4 separate regions of the Homo sapiens genome follow, and all the other regions are linked to region 2. Evidence: promoter capture Hi-C in 16 types of primary human blood cells and fetal thymus (Javierre and others, 2016). All regions are on one chromosome and are shown on one strand. Each heading gives the region's core, a stretch centred on a gene start or on the middle of the fragment in contact. The rest is flanking DNA. Distances are from core to core; before and after follow the strand shown.

Region 1 (6,157 bases), core at 2,736-5,235, 150 kb after region 2:
CTGGATCTGACAAACGGATGCGCGCTGGGAGGGATCATGGTTTCTGTCTGGGCTCTTGTTCATTCTTAATCCTGTATCAGGATGTCCTGATTGCCTGTTTTCTCCTTCACAGCCTTCCGGGCACTGCTTCAGATCCGAGCCATGAGGAAAAAATTGGGCCCCTTGTCCCCAACCAGCTTTAACCCCATCATCTCATCCCAGACATCTGACTCTGAAGAGCATCCAGTAAGTTGGGCTCGGAACCACGGCCCCTCTGAAGCAAATGCCTCATTGGCTTTTTTAAACTTTTCATGCTTCTCTACGTGGCATTGCAGCAAGGAATTAGACCAGGGCATGCTGCAGTATTTAGCAAGCCGGCTGAGAGCATGCGTTAAAACCAACTTATTACTGTGGAAAATTGAATACTGAAAACCTCCCTTTTCCTCCTTGGGAACTTGGTGTCCAGTTAATGTTTACCATTCCTAGAGCCATCTGCTTGCAGTTTCACTCCAGTGAGGTTCAACTTGAACTCCCCCAGGCAGAAACAATGGGACGATTATTTTGGATTTAAATACAATTTATTATCTTTATTTGAATCCTCGAAGAAAGTAACTGTTTTTCTTTATCCTGTTTTGTGGCCTCAGTGCCTGAGATAAAGTAACTGACTTCAGTTTCCTAGTGTAAGTGCTGATATTAGGGTGAAACCTCAAAGCTTTGCAGTTAGAGAGCAGCAGATACTGTCTTTCTTTAGACTAACGCACTGCTGGGAGAGATTATTATTTAGTGAATGGTATTGGGATAATTAGTTAGCTATTTCAGGAGGAAAAATTAGTTTAGCACTTTACTCCTTACCAAATAAATTCCAGCTGGAGTAACTAGTTAACTATATTAAGAGCATCAAACCAAACAAACATTACAGCAAACCAAGCAAAACATTCAAAATCTAGAATAAATTATAGATGATTATTTAGTTGACTTTGGATTGGAAAGGATTCTCTAAGCTTGAAAGCAAGAACCATACATTTTACCACCTAAAAAGTTTAGCACTTCAGAGGTCTAAAAGGTAACCAAAATTAAAAGTTAGACAACAAATAGTGTTTTTTTAAAAACTATTTACAATGTGTGTATCAGAGGAAAAGCTAATGTCTTTGCCATAGTTCATATTGAATAAAACAGTAGATAAAAGGGCAAAGGGCATAAACAAAACACACTCAACATAGAATTTTTTAAAAAGTTCAACCACATTAAAAATCAATGATATGCAAATATGAGAATACCATTTTCCAACTTTCAAATTTTAAAAACTTTTCTTTTTAGCGATTCTCCCTGCTTTCGGGGAAGCAGTCAGAATAGGTCTTCTGTATTACTTATAGGAGTGTAACTAGAAAAGGCACTGAAAAAAAAAACAGCAGAAAACAGCAGTATATATCAAGGCCTTAAAAACATTTATACCTCATCATCTAAGAGCTAATAATTTAATAACAAGAACATAATTTGAAAAAAAGGCATTCAAGGATGTTCATCAAAACTTGTTTACAATAGGATGTGTTAGACACAACTAGATTCCCAGCACTAGGAGAATAGTTAGAAAACTTAGGGGATCTATGAGAAGGGGACATATATAAAGAGGCTTCAGAAACAAAGGAAAATATTTATGTTCTGGCCAGGCATGGTGGCTTACATCTGTAATCCTAGCACTTTGGGAGGCCATGGTGGGAGGATCAATTGAGACCAGGAGCTCAAGACCAGCCTGGGCAACATAGTGAGATCCCATCTCTATTTTTTTAAAGAGGAAAGTATAATAAAATAAGCAGAATATAAAATTGTTATTTACAGATTGATCAAAACTGTGTAAATAGTACACAGAAAAAAAATGGGAAGAAGAGACACCAGAATGCTAACAAAAGTAACTTTGGGTGATTTGATTACTGGTGATTTTTTTTCCTTACTTTTACTTTTATGTATTTTCCAAATTTCCATTATAATCAGAAAAAAAATAGAGATTATTAAGAAAAAGCTTACCAATAAGCAGGATCTACAGTGTGTGATTCTTTGATATTTTATCTCTGCCTCTAGTACAGTTGTTCTTACCAGACCCCCCCAAGAACAGATATAAAACATTTTTTTCAGTGTAGAGAAGTAGCATGATCACGTCATAAAACAAAAAGGACCTAATTAATTTTTCAACCTGTCTCTGATTCCCCTAGTCCTCAGAGAATATTCCACCAGGCTATGAAGTAGTATCTCTTCTGGAGGCCCTCAACGGGCCCCTCACCCCGTCCCCAGCAGTTCCTCCACTTCACGTGCTTGGAGATGGCCACCTCTCAGGAATGCTCCCTTCATATGGCAGTGATGGCCACCTGCCCCCCGTCAGGACGATCTCGCCTCTTGACCGCCTGTCTGACAGCAGCAGTCAGGGACTCAAACTCAAAAAGAGTCTCTCCAAGTGAGTAGCCAGTGCTCCACACTGTTGCCCCCGGAATCCTTGATGAAATGCTTCATCCCTCCTTGGTGCTGGCCCACATCCTGGGGACTTAGGGCAGAGTAACCCTCTGGGCTGTTCCCAGAGCTGCTTGCGTGAAGGTTATCCCATCCATTAAGAGATGAAAATAAGATGGTATGTAGGTACTTAAGAAAACTCTGATGAGACAAATCTCTTATGTATTCTTTTTTTCTTTCAAGGATAGGGGATGGGATATAGGGAAGAGGATGTTGAACACTGTGGATAGGGCCTTCTAGGCCCCTGGGAGCATTGCTTAGTCCGAAGACTGAAGGAACCTTGTGATCCGTATCTCTTAAACATCTAAATCCAGCTAGGCACAAATCATGACAAGGTTTCTGTGGCAGAGTAAAGGGGAGGGTATTTTACAGATGAAAATATTGAGACCCTGTAAATGGCAGTGGTTTTTCCCAAGTTTAGATAGCAAGTCATCAGAGGAGCTAAAAGTAAAACTTAGCGCTTCTGACACCCAAAAGAGGTCTCCATCCCTCTCTGGTTCTATTTCCCTAGTCCTACTTAAGATTTGGGTTTCGAGCCAGGCAAGTTAGCCCAGACCTACTCGGCTACTCAGGAGGCTGTACTCCTCCTCTGTTAAAGCGTCAACAAGAGGATCGCTGAAGCCCAGGAGTCCCAGCCCAGCCTGGGAAACATAATGAGATGCTGTCTCAAAAAATAAACAAGCAAAAAATATTTGGGTTTTCCCCTCAGCTCCCCTTGCAGTAAGTTCTGTTCTTTAAATGGACGTTGGATATAGCTGCTTTTCCACTGGACTCCTACAGATCCACTTCCCAAAACTCTTCCGTGCTGCATGAAGAGGAAGATGAGCATTCCTGCAGCGAGTCGGAGACACAGCTCTCTCAGAGACCGTCGGTTCAGCATCTCGGAGAGGTAATTGACATTCCTCTCCTCTTCTTGGGTGTTGTACTCCAGGGACTTCCCTCCTACCTGCATGCCTCATCAGGTCCCTCTGCTCTCATTCACTCATCAAACACCTTGTCAGCACCCTCTGAGGCAGTGGCAAAGGTTTCACTGGATTCATGCATTCAACAGTGTATGCAGCCTGTATTATTTGCCAGGCACTGTGCTATATGCTGAGGATAGTAGCTGGGACACTACAAAAGTCCCTGCCCTTGTAGCATTTATATTCTTGCTATCTGGGGTGGGGGGCACAAAAGACAATAGGTAAAAAAATACATGTGTGCCTGATGGTGCTGTGGATCAGCATGTGTGACATGTGGGAAGGGAGTGTCACGGCTGGAAGTGGGGGCTGCCATTCTTAAAAAGCGGTCCAGGAGCCAAGACCAAGGGAAGTGGTAGAGCTAGCTATGCAGATATACGAGGAGAGAGGGCCCTAGGTCTGGGAACAGCAAGGAGAAAGTCCTGGGGGTAAGTGGGGGGTGTCGGGAGGCCCATGTGGAAGAATGGAAGAGAAGGCTGGAATTTTCTACTCTGTGCGTCCCACAGAGACCTCACTTAACAAAGGTTTATGCAGCTTCTCTCTGTAGGGCACTGAGCTAGATACAGCAGGGCACAGGAAGGTAAATAAAGTGGTCCCTGCCCTTAGGTGCTCAGGTCTGGCTGGGACAGGACATATACATGGGAATAGCATGTGCCTGGCACGTTGTTGTTGCTCAGTAAGTATTTGTTCAATGACTAAGTAAATTTTATAAAAAAGAAGTATGCCCAAAACAGAGACGATAAATTGCTGTGTCAGAGATGGAAAAGATCATTGTAAGTGGAGGAAATCAGAAAATGTGTTATGGAGGAATAGCATTTTAGCTAAACCTGGAAGTTTTTTAGACATGGAGAAAGAGGTGAGAGAAACATCCATGTGGAGAAGACGATGCATGCAAAGGCACAGAGCAGGAAGTCGGGGCTCGGAGCAAGCCAGGGGCACAGTGAGTGCTTCACACCCCAAAGGCCCACCCGACCGCAGTGTGCAGCCTGGACTAGACGGGAGACAGACCCAGCCAGGAGAGGGTTTCAGTAGCCCAGGCAAGAAGGACTGTGTGACTGGCCGGGCGCGGAGGCTCACGCCTGGAATCCCGGCACTTTGGGAGGCCGAGGCGGGCGGATCACGAGGTCAGGAGATCGAGACCATCCTGGCTAACATGGTGAAACCCCGTCTCTACTAAAAATACAAAAAATTAGCCAGGTGTGGTGGCATGCACCTGTAGTCCCAGCTACTCGGGAGGCTGAGGCAGGAGAATCGCTTGAACCCAGGAGGCAGGGGTTGCAGTGAGCCAAGACCGCACCACTGCACTCCAGCCTGGGCTGGGCAACAGAGCGAGACTCCATCTCAAAAAAAAAAAGTGAAAAAAAAAAGAAGGACTGCGTGAACTAAGACAAAAGAGGAGCGCCTGGAGGGAAGGGAAGGGATTATGGAGATACAGTTCGTAGAACTTTGCATCCATCTTGGACGGGTGAGGCTGTGCACCCAGATGCCTGACAGGTCGGGGCTGGGATCGGAGGTGGGGGTGTGGGAGGAGCAGCAGGCTGGGGAGCAAGGTGGTGTTTGTATCAGAAAGCAGCTGGGCAGGAATTAACTGGGGTCCACGTGGAGATACCCTGCAGGCAGGAAGTCCTCTGCTGGCTTTGTATGCTTTTGCCGCAGAAGGAAAGCTGATCATAATCCTGGGGAAACCTGGGGTGTCCCCATGTCACAGCTGCAGGGTGACCTGTGTCACCCGAGCTGCAGTCTTTGTATGGCCGCAGCAGATGCTGTGCCCTGGGCAGGAGGTGTTGACTGAAGTGTGCGCCTCCCCTGGGAGGCAGTCATTCCAGGCTTGGGCTGAAGTGAGGACGGAAGAGAGAAGCTGCGGCCTCTGCATGCCACTCAGTCCCTCCCAGTGTCGCCTTTCCTCCTCATCTCTACCCAGACCTCCGCCCTGACCCCTTCCTCCAGCACAGGTGACTGGCGCTTGCTCCATGTCCTGTTGTGTCCCCCCACAACCCCCAGGAATGTGGTGTGACTCCAGAAAGTGAGAATCTCACCTTGTCGTCATCTGGAGCTATTGACCAGTCGTCTTGCACAGGGACGCCTCTGTCATCCACTATTTCCTCCCCAGAAGGTACATAAGGAGCGGGGAGTGGCTGCATGTCCTTCCCCCTTACCCAGCCCACAGTGTCCTGGTGCTTCTTCCGGGAAGGGACATGGGAGTGGCAAGCTAATACCTGTACTGCATGACAAGTAGGCCCTGGCTTGAGAGGGAAGAGGACTTGCTTTCCTACCATGGGATAGCAGGCTTGCCTGTAGCTAGTGGGGTGTTAATTCTCTCAGCCCCAGTCCTCCTGTAATGAGGTTTCCTTTAGCATTATGACAGGGAAAAGCAAATGTCTTGTCCCCAAGGCTGAGTTCTGAGCTCTAAAATATAAAGGAGCAGAATTTTGGAAAACCATAAACCTAAAACCACTTTTAGGGGAGGGCAAGATACGGCCACTTCACTCCTCAATGCCTGAATGCAGGGAGAGGGCTCTGCTCCCCAGAAAGCTTGCAGAAGCCCTGCCTGACCTCCAGGCTCCTTTCCCCATCCCCTGTCTCCAAAGGCCCTGCCAGCAGCAGCTTGGCCCAGTCTGTCATGTCCATGGCATCCTCCCAGATCAGCACTGACACCGTCTCCTCCATGTCTGGCTCCTACATCGCCCCTGGCACTGAAGAGGAGGGAGAGGCTCTCTCTT
Region 2 (6,943 bases), core at 2,432-4,931:
GCACTGGGGCTCACTGTGTTTCTGCATGGAGACCATGCCATTCCTAAGATTTTTGTCTTGTGTTCTGAGGCCATGTAACTTTTCCTTTGCATAAAATTAGTTAATTTTGGTTTATAAAAACTATACTCGGTGGAACAAGGTTTTGTAGTTTGGAACTTAGGCTGTGGGAACTCAATGTTAGATAAGCTTTTCTGTGTAACCAGCTTGGAGAACAGACTTCAGTAACAGCGTTTGTTTTCCATCACTGTGTGACTAGGTGGTGGTGACGAATACTGTCCCTCATGAGGTTCAGAAGCTGCAATGTCCCAAGATAAAGACTGTGGATATCAGTTTGATTCTTTCTGAAGCCATTCGGAGAATCCACAATGGAGAGTCCATGGCCTACCTTTTCCGAAACATCACTGTGGATGACTAGCTTTCACGAGGGTCTCGACCCTGGACCTCCTGAGGGAAACATGGAAAAAGCAGTGCCATGAGTGATACAGTGTTTCCTTGCAAGGGAGGACTCGAAACAGCCTGGAGTTAGATATCTTCTTTTGCCCGGATTGATGGGGAGGAGGGATTAAAAGAGTCAGGAAGAAGACAGAGCTAATGGATAAATATCATAACATGGCCTTACATGTCTGCTGTCATCAGCCCTGTTCCTTAAAAGTTCTAGCTGCTTTCTTAAAAATAATCTGAAAATCTTATTGATACTAAAGAGGAGTTAAAGGCACATAAAGTCTTAACTCTATAATGTTCATTTAGTTGTTTCAGCTCCAGGGAAATGGAGGTATTGATGTTGAACCTGGTTAGGGAAGCTGAGCGCCTGTGGCCCTATTACTATCCAGTTGGCCTCTCCCAAATCAACTTCAAGTCTTTTATAGAGAATCGTATTTTTCTTTCAGAAATTGTTATGCCTACAGCCATTGAAAAATGAAGCATTCATGTTGTTACATCTTCCAAGGATGTCAGATTAGAAAATAGCATCCCACCTCTGGGTATCTGAGTGGCTCTGAAGTTGCAAATAAAATAATTTGTTGTCTTGCTAGTCTTTTCATTAGACAGCAGAAGACCATGGATACAGAACAGCAGTCAGGTCTGTGGCTGGACACAAACACTTTCCCAGGTTCCACCCTCTTCCTAAGTGTTGAAGCTAAATCCTTGTTGAATACTGTATTTTAAATCTTTAAAAAAAAAAAAAAAAAGTCTAGGTGTGGTGGCTCACACCTATAATCTGAGTACTTTGGGAGGCTGAGGCAAGGAGGATTGCTTGAGCCCAGGAGTTTCAGACCAGCCTGGGAAACATGGCGAAACCCCCATGTCTACAAAAAATACAAAAATTAGCCAGGCATTGGTAGCATGTGCCTGTAGTTCCAGCTACCTTGGGAGGCTGAGGTGGGAGGATTGCCTGAGCCAAGGAGGTTGAAGCTGCAGTGAACTATGATTGTACCACTGCCATCCATCCTGGGTGACAGAGCAACACCCTGTCTCAAAAAAAAAAAACAGGCCAGGGATCGTGTCTTATGCCTGTAATCCCTGCACTTTGGGAGGCCGAGGCAGGTAGATCACCTGAGGTCAGGAGTTTGAGACCAGCCTGGCCAACATGGCAAAACCCCGTCTCTACTAAAAATACAAAAATTAGCCTAGCTAAGTTAAAAGCATAAAAAGACTACAAAGAGGCCAGGCATCATGGCTCACGCCTGTAATCCCAGCACTTTGGGAGGCCGAGGTGGGCAGATCACTTGAGGTCAGGAGTTTGAGACCAGCCTGGCCAATATGGTGAAACCCTGTCCCTACTAAAAATACAAAAATTAGCCGGGTGTTGGGGGAGGGGGTGCACGCCTGTAATCCCAGCTACTCGGGAGGCTGAGGCAGGAGAATTAATTGGTTGAACCCAAGAGGCAGAGATTGCAGTGAGCTGAGATTGTGCCACTGCACTCCAGCCCAAGTGACAGAGCAAGATTCCATCTCAAAAAAAAAAAAAGACTGCAAAGAACTAGTTATTTTGATAACCCCTTAAAGGCCTACTGTGTCCCAAGTTATTGGAATATAATGATGATCGAAAATCCTTCAATTAAATAAACAGTACCTCTCAGGCTGAAGTGAAAAATCTGAACTTGAACAGTAGTTAAAATAGTACAGTTATTCCTTACAATCCATGGGTGATTGGTTCCAGGACTCAACCTCCTGCCCATGGATGTGCAAGTCCCTGATAGAAAATGGTGTAGTATCTGCATATAAGCTATGCACATCCTGGATGACTTGTAATACCTACTGCAATATCCTGTGTAGATGGTGGTCATGCTGTATTATTTAGAGAATCATGACAGGAATCTGTACGTGTTCAGTCGTGGTTGGTTAAATCTGCAGATGCAGAGCTCACGGAGGAGGCTGGCCATGCATGGCACACATTCATAGGTTCTCTTTAAGTAGCCTTGCTGTGCTTCTGTTAGGAAGTTTTATTTATACGTTTTTGGGAAGAATCTTGTATGGGGAAGTCATGTCTCAATTGTTAACACCAGATTTGTCTCGTGCTGTTTAATCCTGCTTTGTAATGAGCTCAAGCACAGGCGCTTGACCAGGTGAGTGGTTTCTTTTCTTTTCTTTTTTTTTTTTTTTGAGACAGAGTCTTGCACTGTCGCCCAGGCTGGGGTGCAGTGGTGCGATCTTGGCTCACTGCAACCTCTGCCTCCCGGGTTGACGCGATTCTCCTGCCTCAGCCTCCCGAGTAGCTGGGATTACAGATGCGCGGTACCATGCCCGGCTAATTTTTTGTATTTTTAGCAGAGGGGTTTCACTATGTTGGCTAGGCTGGCCTTGAACCCCTTACCTCAGGTGATCCACCCGCCTCGGCCTCCCAAAGTGCTGGGATTACAGGTGTGAGCCACCAAGCCTGGCCGTTTTTTTGAGATCAATTAATTTATGGCAGGCTGGGCGCGGTGGCTTACACCTGTAATCCCAGCACTTTGGGAGGCCGAGGTGGGTCGATCACTTGAGGTCGGGAGTTCAAGACCAGCCTGGCCAACATAGTGAAACCCCGTCTCTGCTAAAAATACAAAAAATTAGCCGGGCATGGTACCACGCATCTGTAATCCCAGCTACTCGGGAGGCTGAGGCAGGAGAATCATGTCAACCCGGGAGGCAGAGGTTGCAGTGAGCCGAGATCGTGCCATTGCACTACAGCCTGGGCGACAGAGCAAGACTCCCTCTCAAAAGTAAAAAAAAAATTATGGCAGCACAGAAAAGGGACAATTAGCCACCAGTTAGTCATCTAGTGGCTAATTGGAACTGCCTGAATAGTGAGTGGGTTGTCTTTTCCAAGTTGCTTCACCTTTGATTGAACAAAATATGTGGACTGTCTGAGGGGACCAGGGCCCCAGGACTGCATCCCTTAGACATGGGGCCATAGACATGGGGCCACCACTCTGGAATGGACGCAGCTGATGACACAAAGCATGGTTGCCAGGAAACCCTCAAGTCTTTCCTTATGTGGCCCCGCCAAGAGTGAGTGAATCCTGGCCTTTCTAGGTTAAGGGGATGGATGGAGTCTAGCTGGATCTTAGGAGGCCTCCTCAGCCCGTTGCCAAGGCTCCCCTTGTGATCCTTGTGGTGGCCTTTACTTCCCCCCGCCCCCGTGGCTCGCAGGGAGGCGTGTTGTTACGTGGAATCTTCAGGGCACGCGGGGGCCCCCACGTTTCAAACGTCCGCCGGCGCGGGGACTGGGAGTCCAGGGCTCCAGCTCGGGGACCCGAGGCCAGCGACAGACAGCGGAGGGGTGGCCATCGCGGACCCCGCCGGGGAGCGGAGGCGCAGATTCCCTGGAGGCAGGAGCTCTGTCCAGTGACTCGGCCGGACCCGGGGCAGGGGCGCCCCGAGGACCTCGCAGGGCCCCCGAAAGGCCCCAAGGCGCGGCGTGCAGTGAGCGGGAAGTGGTTGGCCGGCGCCCCGCGGCGGCGCACAGCTCCTGACAGCCACGATGCCGCCCGCGACCACGGTCTCCCTCCGGGAGCTGGCGGACCTCTCCATCGGCACGCCAGAGGTGGGCGCCGTCAACTTCACGGCCCTGCACACGCTCATCGTGGCCATGCTCAAGAACCTCGACCTCCAAAATACCCGGATCGACTTCCAGCCCTCGTCGCCCGAGCCCAGCCGCTCGCTGCAGTCCGTCCGGAGCTCGTTCAGCATCCCGCACCTGCCCGCGCCCAAGGAGGTGCCCAAGGGGGCGCCCCGGGAGAAGCGCAGGGGCGTGGGCCAGGCGCCTTCGTCAGCGCTGGAGAGCCAAGTGAAGGACCTGGGCGGCCAGGTGGAGGACCTGAGCAAGCAGCTCAAGCGTGTGGACGGCCAGGTGCAGGGCATCGCCACGCACGTGCAGCACTTCTCCCAGGCCAGCGGGCTTGACCTGGCCGCGCTAGAGTGGCCGGAGGAGCAGGAGGTGGGCGTGCGGGCGTTCGATAGGGTGCGGACTGGGAGTATCATGAAGGACGCCGCCGAGGAGCTCAGCTTTGCCAGGGTGAGCACGCACACGGAGGCACGCGCAGGCCGTCTGCCTCCTCCAGGCCGCCCTCCAGGCCTAGCCGAGTCCCCACCACCCTGGAGGGGTGAGCGGTGGTGGGGACGGAGGGGATGGGGACCGAGGAGGTGCCAGACCTCAGTGCGACTGGCTAAATAGAGTGGCCCATGCTCTACCTTGCAGTCCACGGGGCTGCAAGACGTGAAAATCCTAAAAGAACGCCACCAAAAGGCCTAGGGCCTCCCCGAGCTGGAGGGGCCTGGGGACCCCACCTCCTAAGTGTAGTGGCCCCATCCCACCCCCTCCTTCCTAGCCCCTGTTTACGGGAGAGGTTCGCCCACCACTTATCAGACATCCAAGGACCCAGAGCTGGCTCAGAGTGGGGCCGGCAACTTCTCAGAAGATTCTTAGAGTGAATTCCCTTTTTAAAATGAATAAGGACATGAAGAGATACGTGTTGAGGACAAAGGCTCCCAGAGAAGGGGAGTCAGGATGGAGAGTTGGACCTCAGCTTCCTATGGCCATGACACAAGCCACAGCAGGCAGGGGACCGTTTCACTTGGACTTTTTTTTTTTTTGAGAAGGAGTCTCACTCTATCACCCAGGCTGAAATGCAGTGGTGCAGTCTCGGCTCACTGCAACTTCCGCCTCCCAGACTCAAGCGATTCTCCTGCCTCAGCCTCCCGAGTAGCTGGGATTATAGGCGCGCGCCACCCCGCCTGGCTAATATTTGTGTTTTTAGTAGAGAAGGAGTTTCACCATGTTGGCGGGGCTGGTCTCAAACTCCTGACCTCAAGTGATCTGCCCGCCTCGGCCTCCCAAAGTGCTGGGCATTACAGGCGTGAGCCACTGAGCCCTGCCTTCAACTGGACTTTTGTTTTCTTGGAGGGACAAATGCATGTAATCATTGAGTATAAGTATTGTCCAGTGAACAGCAGGAAGCAACGCAGGTCAGCGCCAGGAGGTAATAGACACGTGCATGTCTCAGAGCCACCTTAGGTTGGTTCTGAAAGAAAAAGCAGAAGCAACTAGGAAGGCAGCTGGGTGGGGAGGCCAAGAGGAGAGACAGGAGGGGAAAAAGAGGCCGGGAAGAGGCAGGAAGAAGAGGCCAAGCCCCAGCAGGGGAGCCCTGGCCGCTCATGCCCTCCTGCCATATCACCCCAGGTCTCGAGACCGCAGCACCAACTCACTTTTGCTCTGGGAAGCATGTCTGCTTTCCTTTTCAAACTTTAAAGTGTGGTGGGGGTTTTTTTTGTTTTAATTTTTTTGGGTTTTTTTTTTTTTTTTTTTTTTTTTGAGACACATTCTCACTCTGTCACCCAGGCTGGAGTGCAGTGGTGCATTGTCGGCTCACTGCAACTCCATCTCCTGGGTTCAAGGAATTCTCCTGCCTCGGCTTCCCGAGTAGCTAGGATTATAGGTGCACACCACCATGCCCAGCTAACTTTTGTACTTTTAGTAGAGATGGGGTTTTGCCGTGTTGGCCAGGCTGGTCTCGAACTCCTGACCTAAAGTGATCCTCCTGCCTCGGCTTCCCAAAGTGTTGGGATTACAGGCAAGAGCCACTGCGCCTGGCCTTTTGTTTTAATTTTTACGTAATCTTAGATTCTAGAAGTTTGCAAAAGTTATAAAAAGTAACTTGTTTTATTTTTGTTTATTAATATATTTTTTCTTAATCCCAAATATGATAGCACCTTATGTTGTAGCGATTTGCTTTGGTTCTTTTGAGGTGCTTTTCTCTTTAGATAGCACAGATGTTCAGCTACTGTTGAGGTACCTGGCACCCTTCCTTCCTTGTAAGGCAAGGTGGGCCTCATCCTACAGGCTTTCACAAGTGGGTTGGAGCAAACTGAATCCCAGGACCAAAGGGTCCCATCCCTGCAGCAGCACTTACTCCTGCCATGCTACCAGCCAGGTCCCCCACTGCATCTCACTTCCCTTCCTGCACTTGGCTGGGAAAAGACCCAGGAGCCTGGGCTGACTGGCCAGGTAAAAACCAGGTAGAAAGCAGGGGCTCCTGCCTGTAATCTCAGCACTGTGGGAGGCCGAGGCTGGAGGATTGCTCGGACCCAGGAGTTCAAGACCAGCCTGGGCAACATTGCAAGATCTTATCTCTACAAAAAAATGTTTAAAATTAGCTGGATGTGGTGGTGCATGCCTGAAGTCCCAGCTACTCAGGAGGCTGAGGTGGGAGGATCGCTTGAGCCTGAGAGGTTGAGGCTGCAGTGAGCTGTGGTGGCATCACTGCACTGCAGCTTGGGTGACAGAGCAAGACCCTGTCTCAAAAAAAAAAAAAAAAGGAAACCAAAAAAACCCAAGTAGAAGAAGAAACCCTCCCTTTCCATAAGAGCCACACAAATTCCCCCTTTCCTCGTCTCCTGGCACTGAGTCAGTGTGTGAATGTGCGTGTATGCATGTGTGTGTCTGAGTGTGAGAGTGTGTGTGCGCATC
Region 3 (6,787 bases), core at 2,425-4,924, 240 kb before region 2:
ACCTGAGGTCAGGAGTTTGAGACCAGCCTGGCCAACGTGGCGAAACCCCGTCTCTACTAAAAATACAAAAAATTAGCTGGGCGTGGTGGTGGGCATCTGTAATCCCAGCTACTCAGGAGGCTGAGGCAGGAGAATCACTTGAACCTGGGAGGCGAGGTTGCAATGAGCCGAGATCGCACCATTGCACTCCAGCCTAGGTGATGAGAGCAAAACTCCATCTCAAAAAAAAAAAAAGAACCTTCTAGGCTGGGCACGGTGGCTCACACCTGTAATCCCACCACTTTGGGAGGCCGAGGCGGGTGGATCACTTGAGGTCAGGAGTTCAAGACCAGCCTGGCCAATATGATGAAACCCCGTCTCTACTAAAAATACAAACATCAGCTGGGCGTGGTAGTGTAAGCTGGTAGTCCCTACTACTCAGGAGGCTGAGGCAGGAGAATTGCTTGAACTCAGGAGGTGGAGGTTGCAGTGAGCCAAGATCATGCCACTGCACTCCAGCCTGGGTGACAAAGTGAGACTCCATCTCAAAAAAAAGAAAAAAAAACAAACAAAAAAACAAAAACCTTCTTACCCTTGCAGTCAACCCCCACAATATCTAACCCCGGCCCCAGTCAACCACTGATGCCTTCTGTCACTATCAGTCGGTTCTGCCTGTTCTAGAATTCCGTGTACATGTCATCATCACACAGTAGGGGCTCTTTTGTGTCTGGCTTCTCTCAATTTACCCATGTCGTCGGCATCAGCAGTTCATTTCCTTTTCATTGCTGAGTATTATTCTATCTTTATATATCTCAGTGTGTTTATCTGTTCCCACGTCGAGGAATATTTGGGTTGTTTCCAGTTTGGAGCTGTTAGTAATAAAGCTGCCATGAACATCTTTGCAGTCTTTTTTGTGGATGTAAGTTTTCATTCCTCTGGGATAACTTTATAAGGAACCACCATGCTGGTTTCCCAAGTGGTTGTAACACTTCACCAGTCCCCAGCCGTGTATGACAGGGTGACATCTTGGACAGTACTTACTATGGTCGGCCTTCAGCTGTAACCACTCTGGTAGGCATGTAGTGGTATGTCATTGGGCTTTTGATTTGCATGTGGAGTATCTTTCTTCTTTCCCAAAGTGCTGGTATTACAGGCGTGAGCCACCGCGCCCAGCCGCATGTCGAACAACTTTCTATGTATTTTAGCTGTATGTTTATTTTTTGTTGTAGTGTCTATTAAAATCTTTCCCCACTTTTTTATTGGGCCATCTTATTATCGAATTGTAAAAGTTCTTTATGTATTCCGGATACAAGTCCTTTCTCAGATTTTTGTTTGGCAAATATTTACTCCTAGTCTTTCCAAGAGCAGAGGTTTAATTTTGATAAAGTCCAGTGTATTGATTTTTCTTTTCTGGTTAGTGCTTTTTGTATCCTGTTGAAAGGACCTTTCTTTCTCCATTGGATTGCCTTTCTGCATCTGTTTTTGGATTCCATTGATCTGTGTGTATATCCTTATGAATCTCACACTGTCTTGACCTCTGATTCTGTCTCCTCCTCACCTTAGCAAAGCCACTGTGGTCCGCTTGGGTTTCCCCTCCCCAAGGCACAGTCAGGGAACTGTCTCCAGGCAGAAGCTGAGGCAGTCATGGGGTCACTGTCCTGTGTGCTGCCTGTTGTCAAGTGTCTGCTGCTTATATCTTGCCCAGTTTTCTGGTTGTTTGTGGCAGAAGGTCTTAATCCGTTTCTGGATCCACAGTGCCTGGCACACAGCACTCCAGACACAGTTCATTACAGTTGCTTTCGATTGGGAAAGTCGGTGGGGCCCCCAGAGAGCTTCTGGTCCATCCCCTTCATTTTACTAAACTGTTCTTTTCCTGAGGAGATCATTAGTCCTCTGCGTCCTCACTCCAGCCCACCTGGGCTTGACAAATGTTTATCAAATGAGGAAACCGAGGTCCAGAGAACTAAAGGTCACAGGGACAGGCAGGGTTGGGCTGGCAGAACTAGGCCACCGAGGCTGGGGCCTTCCTATAGGACCAACCAGCAGGGCAGGGTCTGTCTCTCCTCGAGTGTCACTCCTGACACCTGATACAGGGTTTGTACATTGCAGGTTCCCAGGACACGCTTGTTAAATAAATGACCAAATGAACACATTAATTTATTTTAATGCTTAGTTCAAATGGCTTCTGCCTCTGCATATGATACTGTGTGTATTTGTGTATGTGTATGTCTCTCTGTGTGTATGTATGTTTATGTGTATCTGTGTGTGTGACTGTGTGTATGTGTATGCTATGTGTGTCTATAAGTGTATATGTCTGTATGTGTGTAAATGTGTATGTGTCGGTGTATATGTGTGTGTGTATGTGTGAATGTGTATGTCTGTGTATGCATGTGTATCTGTGATTATGTGTGTGTGTTTCTGTGTGTCTGTTTTATTTGTGTGTGTACATGTATGTCTGTGTGTATGTGTGTGAATGTTCGTATATGTGTATGTCTGTGTATGCATGTGTATGTGTGAATGTGTGTGTGAATGTGTATGTATGTGTATGTTTATGTGTATGTGTGTGTATATGTGTGTGAATATGTTTGTATATGTGTATGTGTGTGTGAATGTGTTATGTGTGTCTGTGTGTATGTGTATGTGTGTGAATATGTATATGTGTATGTCTGTGTGTGTGTGAATGTGTGTTGTGTGTGTGTGTGTGAATGTGTGTCTCTGTGAATGTGTGTATGTCTGTGTGTGTATTATATGTTTGTATAGGTATATGACTGTGTTTGTGTATGTGTGTGTGTGAATGTATGTGTCTCTGTGTGTGTGTGTCTGTGTGTGTGAATGTGGGTGTCTCTGTGTGTGAATATGTGTGTGTGTGTGTGTGTGAATGTGTGTGTGTTCACATAGGGACAGGATTGGCCTCTCCTCCCCAGGTGCACAGGCTGAGTCTGTTAGTAAATTTTTAAAAATTTTCTCAGTCCCCCACTACAGTCATCATCCCCACTAGGGGGCACATGTGTCACACAGAGAGGGTCTGTGCTCCTTAGGCACAAGGACTGGCTTCCCACTGTCAGCGGATCCCCCTGAAAGCCACCTCCTTGGTCTCCATGGCCTGCACCCTCCCCCTGCAAAAACAAATCAAAACAACCTTCCTCACCAGGCTCCGCATCTCCAGCTGGGCTGCTGGCTGCCATCCTGTCCTCTCCCCAGGGCCCTGCCCCTGGCTGAAGGAGGCAACAGAGTGGCAGTTGCAGTGACTGTGGGTGATGACCTCGCTGTCTGTCATCCCTGCCAGAGGCCACCACATCCTTCCTGAGGAAGACTGAGGGGTCCTAAAGGGGCAGCTCTCCTCTCCCCCTCACCTGGCAGGCAAGAACCAGCCTCTCAGGGCCTAGAGTCTGGTCTGCCCTTGAATGTGAGTTCCTGAAGACAGATTGGTGGCAATGACCCTGGCCAACACCAGCCCACTTGCAAAGGCAGGCTGGGCGGGACCACAGCTCCATTCCTTGTGCCTTGTAGACAGGTCACAATCAAAATTTCCTCACGGCCCCCAACTCGAGACTTGGGCCCCCTCTATCCCAAGCTTTGGTGTCAGATTTCCCAGGCTCAGGTCCTGGCTTCACTGCCAGCTATGAGTGACCTTGAGCAAGTTCTGTGAACCTCACTTTCCTTATTGGATAAATGATAACAGTTCCTGCCGCATAAATGAAACAGTGCGTAAAATACAGCAGCTGGCACAGTGCCTAGCACATAGTAAGCGCCCAATGCATGTTAGTGGTTATTAATCATACGATTAGTATCATCATTATGTTAACATAAGCTTCCGTGCGAACCAAACTGTTCTTCTGAGGTTCACAAAGAAGCATTATCTTCCTCTAGCTCTAGGTCTTGGGCTTCTTCCTAACAGTGAGGCCCCCCACAGAGAGGCTACGGGAGCCTGAGGAACCAGCAGGGTTTGCTCTCTCGCCATTGTGCCTGTCTCATAGTGGGCACTGTGCCCTACCCATCTAGTCTTGGCCCACCACCTGTACTGTTTGCCCTTGCCCAGGACTGCGCGCACACACACACACACACACACAAACCACACACACACACAACCGCACACTTGGAATGGGTGGGTACTCCCCAAGGTGACATCTACACCCCAGGGTGACAGTGGACAGCCACAGCTGCAGTGGCTACTTCCCTGGCTCCCACCACACCCCCACCGCCTCATTAGTTCCCTGGTCATGCTCCAGTCTCCAGGAGAGACTGGCAGCCGCTCTGAGCCTCAGTTGCAGGAGCAGCACCTCCCTGCTCCTGGTTGCTGCCCTCAGCCGCCCTGCAGCTCCAAGCAGCCTTTCCCCGTCACTCAGGCTCCCCCAGCAGAGATATTAGCATTCACACGGAGGAAGGTACCACAGCAGGGCAGCGCCTCCCGTCTTGTCAAGGAGCTGAGGTTCATTCCGGAAGCAGAGCCAGCTGGGAGTGGCGCTGTCCAGGTCGAGGTCACCACTGGAGGTTGGGACATGGTTCTGGGCACAGAGAGGCAGTGGTGGTCTTCTCCAGTACAGGCTTACAGGGGGCTTCCCCACCCCAGCAATGCCACCCTCTGCCATCCTCTGATCTGTTGCAGAACTACCGGTCGCCCAGCTCTGTGTATGTGGAGAGACGGCAGGAAGGACCAGAGAGTGAGGATGTGAGGAACTCTAGCCGTCCTGAATCTACCACTGTTCAGTAATTTACAGTTCAAACCGGATTGTGCCAGCTCACATATATGGGACACTTACCCAACATGCTAAGCATCTTCCACACGTTATCTAATCAACCCTTACAACTCTAAGAGACAGATACCAGTAGGATCTCCATCCTACAGCTAAAGAAACTGAGGCACAGAGGTGTTCAGAAACTTACCCAGGCCACAGAGGTAGGATGTGCTGGTGGAACAAGGTTCAAACCCAGGAGCTCTGACTCTGGACACCTTGCTCTTGGACTCTTGTTATTTCACAGTAGCCAGCACCCTAGACCAGAAGGGACCCCACCCTTTGGCTCAGCTCTCCCTCTCTAGCTGCCCTTTATCTGCCCTCTCCCAAGCCCCTGAGCACTCCTGCTCCCATTCCCAAGCAGCGGCTCTTTGCAAGGAAAGGGATGAAAAAGGACTCAGCCTCAGTGGGGACAGTGTCATAGTCAGGATTTAATTCCCCCATTTAAAGGTCCACCCTTGCCCTGAGCTTCACACTAAGCCCTGTGATGGGAGCCAGTGGGCCAAGGAAGGGGCACCCGGGTCCCAGGAGCCTTCTGTGGGGAGCTCTAGGCTGAGAGAGGTAACTTTCTGCAGCAGGAGCTGCAAATGTGCAGACTGCGCAGAGAGCCCAGGGGTGGGAGAGGCCCCGGGAATAAGAGGCGAGCGTGGGCTGGGTGTGCGGGGAAGGTGTAAACACAATCTGCTCCCACCAAAGCCAGCCTGCTCCCTGGGGGAGACAGCCCCCCCACCCGGCCCACATGGCACCCCAGCTGCCCAGGCAACCTCCAAGCCCAGGCAGCCACAGCCCCGCTGGCCGCCAGCAGCCCCTTCCTCTCTTTTTCCCGCCCTTCCTCTGGATGGATCCCTGGAGCAGCCACCACCTCCTGCGCAGGTTCTCGGAACAGTGGCGTGGAGGGGCGCTGCCCTGGGGAAGTGCGTCTGGGCCGTGAGCCAGCTCCATGACCTTGGCCTGACAATTCCTCAGACCAGTGGAAGGAGATGAGCAACTCGGAAATGGCAGCAAGGATGAGGTGACAGGAACATGGCAAATAGAGAATAAATGCAGATAGGATCGGGGAACACAGACTGGGTCCCGGGAACAGTGCCCTCTGGCCCTCAGCCTGACAGGCCTGTCACCAGGAAGGCCGATGCCTCCAAAGAGAGAGACAGGCTGACAGGAGCTGAGACAGGCGATCACGGGCTCACGGCCTGGGTCAGGCTGGCGCTCTGGCTTTGCCTCTGCAGGCTCCTTCCCTAGTGTGACTTTCCCCCTGCCTCCTGCCTGCCCTACTTTGAGAGGCTCCCACAGAACTGCCTTCGCACACACCCCAGCCAGGCTCCCCGAGGTACCAGCAGGCCCTCCCCAGCGGGGTGCACCTCCTCCCCCACCCTGAGCGCCTCCCCAGCGGTTCCCTCTGCTCTGCGGCATCCCTCACCCTTTCCCTTCCTTCCCTTCAGAGGCAGAGTGGCGGCTGAAGTGCTGCTGTCTAGAGAACTCCATCTTCTACTGCCTGGAAGTCAAGGGCACGGGCCAGCCAGGCAGAGACATCGCCGCTGGGCTGGGAGGGGGGCTGGCTGGGGAGGAGAGACGCGTGTGCACAGAGGCACGGGGGGTTTTTGAAGACTAATAGCTGTGAGACATCAGGAGCAGCTGCCTGCAGGGTCTGCTCCTGGATCTGGGAGCAGAAGCGGAAATCTGCTTTTATCTCTGCTCAGGATCATGCAGGATTGAAAAGAGAGAAATGGCAGAGCAGCTGGGGGCAAAGGAGGCAGCCGCCGGGACTGAGCATCAGCAAATTGATAAAAACAAGTGTCAGGCTTTTTCCTTCCCACACGCTACTGCCCGTTTGGAACACACGCGCTTGCACACATACAGAAAACACATTCGGAGGACAAGCTGTCCGTTGCTCCCATCCAGCTGCAGGCAGACATGTCACAGATCCAACTGGCATTTCTTATTGATAATTTCAGCAGAGCAGCCAGTGACAGGATGAGCTCTGGGAACTGGGGAAAGGCAAATGACACAAAAGCGAGTGCCACTGTGGCAAACCGACACCAGCACCTCGGACCACAAGTGGCGGCTTAACAGAATAG
Region 4 (6,387 bases), core at 1,869-4,368, 130 kb before region 2:
TGGGCTGCAGGAGGGGCAGGAAAGGGATGAGGCGGACTCATCATCCGCCAGTGCTTTAGTGTTAGAAAGGCTTGCCTCTTTCTTCCTCCCCATTGCTTGCTGGTGGTTATTATTAATGCACTGCTGTTGCTAAGAAGTTTCATTTGATTTCATTTCATTTTAGGATGTAAATATGGTAGTTGTTTTGAGTATAACACACCCAATCCAAGAGGAGAATGATTATTCAGCATTTTAATGAAATTGCTGTCTTTTATCCAGCCAGTGTCAATGGATTCCTGCTGTGAGCCAGGCATGTTAACTCACACTTTACCTGTGTCATCTCACTTCCCTTAAAGTGGCCAGTGCCCCATTTTAGAAAAGGAAAGACTGAAACCCAGAGAAAGCTTATAACTCACCAAGGCCACATAGCAAGTGGGAGGCCAACCCAAATTCAAACTTAGGCCAGTTTGTGCTGCCCGAATGCAGGTTCTCTTCACTGACTACACGGGTGCCCCCTGCACTGTGCTGGGTGCTGTGGGGAGAGAGATACCCCCACACAGGCCCTGCCCTCTAGATAAGGGGCCAGCCAAACTTTCTGTAAAGGGCCAGATGATAAATGTCCTAGTGTTGCAGGCTATACTGTCTCCTTCACAACAACTCAGCTTTGCCATTATAGCACAAAAGCATTCAGAGGCAGTAAGCAAATGAATGGGCATGGTCATGTTCCAATAAAATTTTAAGAAACAGGCAGTAGGCTGGACATGACCTGCAGGCTGTAGTTTTCCCACCTCTGCTCTGGAAGGATCCTGAAAAATAGAGATACAATGTGAGCCACAGCTGAAAAAAGTAAATAGAGGCCAGGCATGGTGGCTCATGGCTATAATCCCAACACTTTGGGAGGCCAAGCCAGGCGGATCACTTGAGGCCAGGAGTTCGAGACCAGCCTGGGCAACATGATGAAACCCCATCTCTTCAAAAAGTACAGAAATCATCTTAGCGTGGCAGCTTACGCCTGTAGTCCCAACTACTCAGTAGGCTGAGGTGAGAGGATCGCTTGAGTCCTGGCGGTCGAGGTGGCAATGGGCCGTGATCGTGCGACCCATTGCCCTTAAGCCTAGGCAACAGAGCAAGACCCTGTCTCAAAGTAAAAAAAACAAAGAGATGAAATTAATTTTAATATATTTTACTTAACCCAATGTATTCAAAATATTATATCAACATATAACTCATATGATAAGTACTAATGAGAGACTGTGCGTTCTTTTTACCATAGTGGCTACTGGATTGGGTAGCACTGCTTCAGAGACTTAGATAGGAGAGAGAACCATCGCTGTGATCTCCTACTCAGCTTTTTTCCCTCATAGCACCTGGCATTACCTGAGATTATACTACTTCATGTCCTGTTTACTGTCCCCAGCCGGAAGGTAAGAGAAGCACAGAAGCATCTCTGTCACTGCTATATCCTCAGTGACTGGCCCAAAGTAGGTGCTAGGAGAGATTTGTTTAGTGAGCACTTGGGAAATGGCAGATTGCACACATGCGAATGAGTGGAATTAGTGGGTGAATGACTGATGCACATAAGGGAGCGAGAGCCTAGTTCCACCTGCAGGACACAGTTGAGATGCTGAAGGATGTGGTGGGGAGCATTAGGAGATGCTGTCATGGAGGTGCCTTTTGAGTTCACTCTTGAAAGATAAGAGCTTGGAATAGCAGCAGTGGAGGGCAGGGCGTCCTGGGCGGGAAGTCCAGTGCGCATAAAGGCAAGAGAGGCAGGAAGTTCATTTCAGTGGTTTCAGACTTAGGCCTCAGAACTCCTTTAACTTAAAAATTATTGAGGACCACAATAATTTTTTAGCTTTGTGAGCTTTTATTTGTATGGGTTGTTTCTATTAACATCTACCATTTAAGAAAACAAACTTAAAAACCAAGAATGCCTGGGCATACATTCTATTGGCCATCAGAGCAGTGACGTCATCACACATCATGTAGCCTCTGGAAAATTCCACTGCAGACTTTGGAGAGGATGAGAGGAAAAAAGGCAAATAACGTCTTGGTCTTGTTATAGAAAATTTTTGACTTTGGACCTCCTGAAAGGGTTTCAGGGATCCCTGGGCCATATTTTGAGGACCACTGAGCTAGAGGTGGGGTGGAAGAAGTCAGGTGAGAGAGTGCTGGCAGGCGAGGCTGCACAGGACTGTAAATAACGATAACAACAAAGGTTTGTTGGCACCTGCCGCGTTCTAGGCACAGTCACTGGAGAACCCCGTGAAGTAGGTGTTCTTACTTCACAGAGGAGGAGAGGTTAAGGCAGTGAGCAGAAAGGCTTGGGCTAAAGCCAGGCAAGCGCCTCCAAACCACGCCGTCAGCTGCCCCTGGAAAGGCCACTGGTGTCATGCTTGCTGTGTGTGTGCAGGTCTTTGGATGACTGACTCAGGAGTTGGGATTTGTTTTTTACATAAAGAGGACTTACATCAGAGTTTACAATGGGTGATTTGGCGGCAGTTTACAAGGTGGAATGTGGGGAGCTAGGAAGCCTGGAGGCCAGTTAGGAGGATTTTATGGGGCAGATGAGTTGTGTCCTCTGTGCCCTCGGTGTGCATGGCGTCACCTATGCATGCATGGCGTGGAGTGCTAGAGGTGCTGACTTCTCACACAAAATGACCCGGAAGTGTGAACAAACATCTTCATTCCGTATTCAGTGGAAGAAGCAGTGATCTGTTCCAGTGCAAGAGGAAACACTGGTTATGTTGGTCTTACTGATGGATTTAAGGGATTTTTCAAGGATAATTTTAATGATGTTCAATTTGACTTAGTACCTAACCCCCCAGTAAAATCTGAAATCTATCGAACCTAAGAGAACAGTAATAAAGCTTTCAATTATTAGAGTAGTGAGGTAGAGAGAAAGGTGAGGTGGTTGGAGAAGGTTTCTCAGATGGGGCGCAAAGGTGTGAAGGACGTTTGAGGAATAACAGGTAAAGCATGTGTTTCACAGCCTTGCACGTACAGCTGAGCCGGGGTGTAGTGGGGGAGGTGGGAGACAGAGCAGGAGTAGGGACATTAGTGTGCCAGGGCTTTGAGGTGATCAGAAGAGCGACGAGGAGCCTTTAAGTTTTTCTTTTTTAATTGTAGTAAAATATGCATAACAAAATTTACCATTTTAACCATTTTTAAATAAACAGTTCAGTGCCATTAAGTACATTCCCATTGTTGTGCAACCATCCCCACCATCCACCCCCAGAACTTTTCATCATTCCCCACTGAAACTCTGTCTCAATTAAATAATAACTCCTCAAACCATTAAGTTTTATAGCTTTTAGAAAAACCTTTTCTAAAAGCAGTGGATGTAGACATGTGGTCACCTACCAAAAGGCAGTAAGAAGAGGGAAGCGTGGCAGAGACTCAAGCTTCTCATGAGCATGGCCAGGTGGCTGGTCCTGCCGGTAATAGCAGTGTGGACAGAGGAGTGGGGAGGGAGATTCCGTTTTGAACACATTGCAAATTAGATGCCTGGAGGCATCCAGGCAACGAGAGACACCTCCCTTCGAAGCGTGTATTTAGCCTGTCCCCCATCTTCCTTTAATTCTTATTGCTGTCCTATTTCATAACCTCATAATTGCAGTTTCTAAACAAACATTTTTTAGATTTATAGAACAGTTTCAAAGATCATACAGAAAGTCCTCGTATCCCCTTCACCCAGTTTTCCCTAATGTTCACATCTTACATATCATGATATATATTTGTCGAAAGTAAAAAAATTGACATTGAGCCAGGCACAGTGGCACGTGCCTGTAATCCAAGCTACTCAGGAGGTTGAGGCCAGAGGGAGGATCGCTTGGGTCCAGGAGTTCAAGGCCAGCCTGGGCATTGTGGTGAGACTGCATCTCGCAAAAAAGATATTAACATCAGCCACATACTGTTATCTAAACCATACACTTTTATTTGGATTAGTTTTCTTTTCCAGGATCCAATCCAGGATACTACATTGCATTTAACATAATTGCCTTTTTTTTTCTTTTTCTTTTTTTTTTTTTTTGAGATGGAATCTCGCTCTGTCGCCCAGGCTGGAGTGCAGTGGCATGATCTTGGCTCACTGCAAGCTCCGCCTCCCAGGTTCATGCCATTCTCCTGCCTCAGGCTCCTGAGTAGCTGGGACTACAGGTGCCCGCCACCACGCCCGGCTAATTTTGTGTATTTTTAGTAGAGACGGGGTTTCACCGTGTTAGCCAGGATGGTCTCGATCTCCTGACCTCGTGATCCGCCTGCCTTGGCCTCCCAAAGTGCTGGGATTACCGGAGTGAGCCACTGTGCCCTGCCACCTTTTTTTTTTTTTTTTAAAGATGGAGTCTCACTTTGTTGCCCAGGCTGGAGTACAGTGGTGGGATCTCAGCTCACTGCAACCTCTACCTCCTAGGTTCAGGCGATTCTCCTGCCTCAGCCTCCTGAGCAGCTAGGATTATGGGTGCCCACCACCATGCCAGCTAATTGTTTTGTTGTTGTTGTTTGTTTTGCATTTTTAGTAGAAATGGTTTCAACATGTTGGCCAGGCTGGTCTGGAACTGCTGACCTCAAGTGATCTGCCCACCTTGACCTCTCAAAGGCATGAGCCACTGCACCCAGCCTAGCATAATTGCCTTTTAAATGTTGAAATAAATGCTCCTCGTTGATCTTTCACTAATCCCCATTTTATACTCTGTCCTAAGAGGCGTTACCTTTTTTGAATTTTGTTCAGAAGGAGGGTGCTAGCCAGTGGCTTTTGATGTCAGGGCAAGGGGTCAAGTAGGATGCTTTGTAAAGAGAGGCAGTTTGGGAGTTGTGAGGAACCTTGGATAGCACTTTTGAGTAGAGAGGTGGTGGCTGGACACCAGAGCAGCAGCAGGCGAGGGACAGCGTGCAGGGCAGGGGCCTGGAGGCATCGTCTAGGCTCTCGGGGATTCAGGGTCCAGCAAGGAGGGAAAGTCCCAGGTGTAATAGTCTGTTCTTCAGTCTCTGACAATCCAGCACCGAAGAAAAATTGCTGGAGTCATCCTCTTATTTGCCTTAGATTTATAGCTTTATTCCTGATTGGTCTATTAAGTTATTTATATACTTAATACAAAAGTGCAAGGACATAGGAAAGGTGGGTAAAAAAAAAGTCACCCATAATTCTACCACTCGGGGATAACTTCTCTTTATTATTTCAGTGGATGGCTGTTCTAGTCTTTTATTTGTTAATTAATTAATAAATTAATTAATTTTTGAGATGGAGTTTGCTCTTGTTGCCCAGGCTGGAGTGCAATGGTGCTATCTCGGCTCACTGTAACCTCCGCCTCCCGGGTTCAAGCAATTCTCCTGCCTCAGCCTCCTGAGTAGCTGGGATTACAGGTGCACACCACCATGCCTGGCTAATGTTTTGTATTTTAGTAGAGACAGGCTTTCGCCATGTTGCCCAGGCTAGTCTCATACTCCTGAGCTCAGGTGATCCGCCCGTCTCAGCCTCCCAAAGTGCTAGGATTACAGGCGTGAGCCACCGCACGGGGCCTAACGATGATGAGAATTTGATGTGACATCTGCAGGATCCCCAGCTAGTCAGCAGCATCTAGAGGGCTAGAACTCTGGCCAGCTGACTGGGCCTTTTGCTAACTGTTTTCTGTCCCCTCTGTGCCGGGGTGTCACTGAGCTTTGCGGGACAGGCTGGTCTGTCGTGCCTTCAGCTCAGGGAATGTGGCTCCCGAGCATAGGGCTGGACTGAGAGGCGTTAGGTGAGCCAGAGAAGGCCTCAGACACAGGGCTTAGAGAGGGCATGTAGACCTGTGATTGCTTAGTGTCCATGACTAGAAAAGACAGAATCTTGTAGTTACTGGGGATTGCACGAGATCACCTTCGAGAGGGCTCAGCACAGCACCTGACCAGTGGTCACTGCTGCTGGGGGATAATTTAGCTCTGCGTCTGTTTCCCTGTGTTTCCAAGCCCATGCAGTAAACGGGGGGAATATTGCGAATTAGCTTGTCTGCCTCGTAAGGCCAACCTGAAAACTAAATCTTAATCTTTGTGTGTGTGTGTGTGTGTGTGTGTGTGTGTGTGTGTGTATGTGTGTGTGTGTGTATCTGTATATTTAAACAGATAATATATGCAAATATCACAACATTCAAAAGGTTTAAACAAATATGTAGTGAAATGTTTGTCTCCCTCCTACCATTTTCACTCTCCAGGGATAGCCACTGTGACCAAACTCTATGTGTGTGAGTATACCTTTTTTATATTTTAGCTTTTTACATAAATAGTAGCTTTCTGTACAACTGCTCTGTATTTGGCAGGTCAGAGCTTTGGATTCAGACAAACCTGGATCTGGATCCTGACCTTCCCGTTTGCTTCGTGGTGACTCACAGCTGGCTTGGTGCATCTCATCCCTTAGTGCCTTGCCAGGTGCGT

Evidence for each region. Contacts are between HindIII fragments. The CHiCAGO score rates a contact against its expected background, and 5 or more counts as called.
Region 1: a contact is called between a fragment that was not itself captured here and the fragment with the promoter of QRICH2 in region 2, in 2 of 17 cell types (M1 macrophages and M0 macrophages). The highest score is 8.6, in M1 macrophages.
Region 3: a contact is called between a fragment that was not itself captured here and the fragment with the promoter of QRICH2 in region 2, in 3 of 17 cell types (naive B cells, erythroblasts and total B cells). The highest score is 8.4, in naive B cells.
Region 4: a contact is called between a fragment that was not itself captured here and the fragment with the promoter of QRICH2 in region 2, in 4 of 17 cell types (M1 macrophages, M2 macrophages, M0 macrophages and 1 more). The highest score is 8.0, in M1 macrophages.

Annotation. Positions count from the first base shown.
Region 1 is chr17:76,155,603-76,161,759 of GRCh38, reverse strand. It overlaps RNF157 (ring finger protein 157), which reads left to right. Exons shown (of 19, transcript NM_052916.3): 11 at 113-225; 12 at 2,187-2,425; 13 at 3,259-3,367; 14 at 5,439-5,550; 15 at 6,026-6,157. Among named protein-coding and RNA genes, the nearest start is that of FOXJ1, 17 kb to the right of the region's middle. The HindIII fragment of the contact is 3,973 bases long and covers 1,999-5,971 here.
Region 2 is chr17:76,305,014-76,311,956 of GRCh38, reverse strand. QRICH2 (glutamine rich 2) reads left to right here and starts at 3,681. Exons shown (of 19, transcript NM_001388453.1): 1 at 3,681-4,492. The coding sequence starts at 3,959. It overlaps PRPSAP1 (phosphoribosyl pyrophosphate synthetase associated protein 1), which reads left to right. Exons shown (of 10, transcript NM_002766.3): 10 at 257-2,479. The coding sequence ends at 415. The HindIII fragment of the contact is 8,448 bases long and covers 189-6,943 here.
Region 3 is chr17:76,543,713-76,550,499 of GRCh38, reverse strand. PRCD (photoreceptor disc component) reads right to left here. Exons shown (of 5, transcript NM_001077620.3): 5 at 5,124-6,697. It also overlaps a transcript of CYGB not described here. Among named protein-coding and RNA genes, the nearest start is that of PRCD, 7.1 kb to the right of the region's middle. RefSeq lists an enhancer at 2,687-3,190. The HindIII fragment of the contact is 237 bases long and covers 3,556-3,792 here.
Region 4 is chr17:76,435,075-76,441,461 of GRCh38, reverse strand. The region is part of intron 1 of UBE2O (ubiquitin conjugating enzyme E2 O); the gene reads left to right. Among named protein-coding and RNA genes, the nearest start is that of UBE2O, 15 kb to the left of the region's middle. RefSeq lists enhancers at 1-411, 4,234-4,735. The HindIII fragment of the contact is 534 bases long and covers 2,852-3,385 here.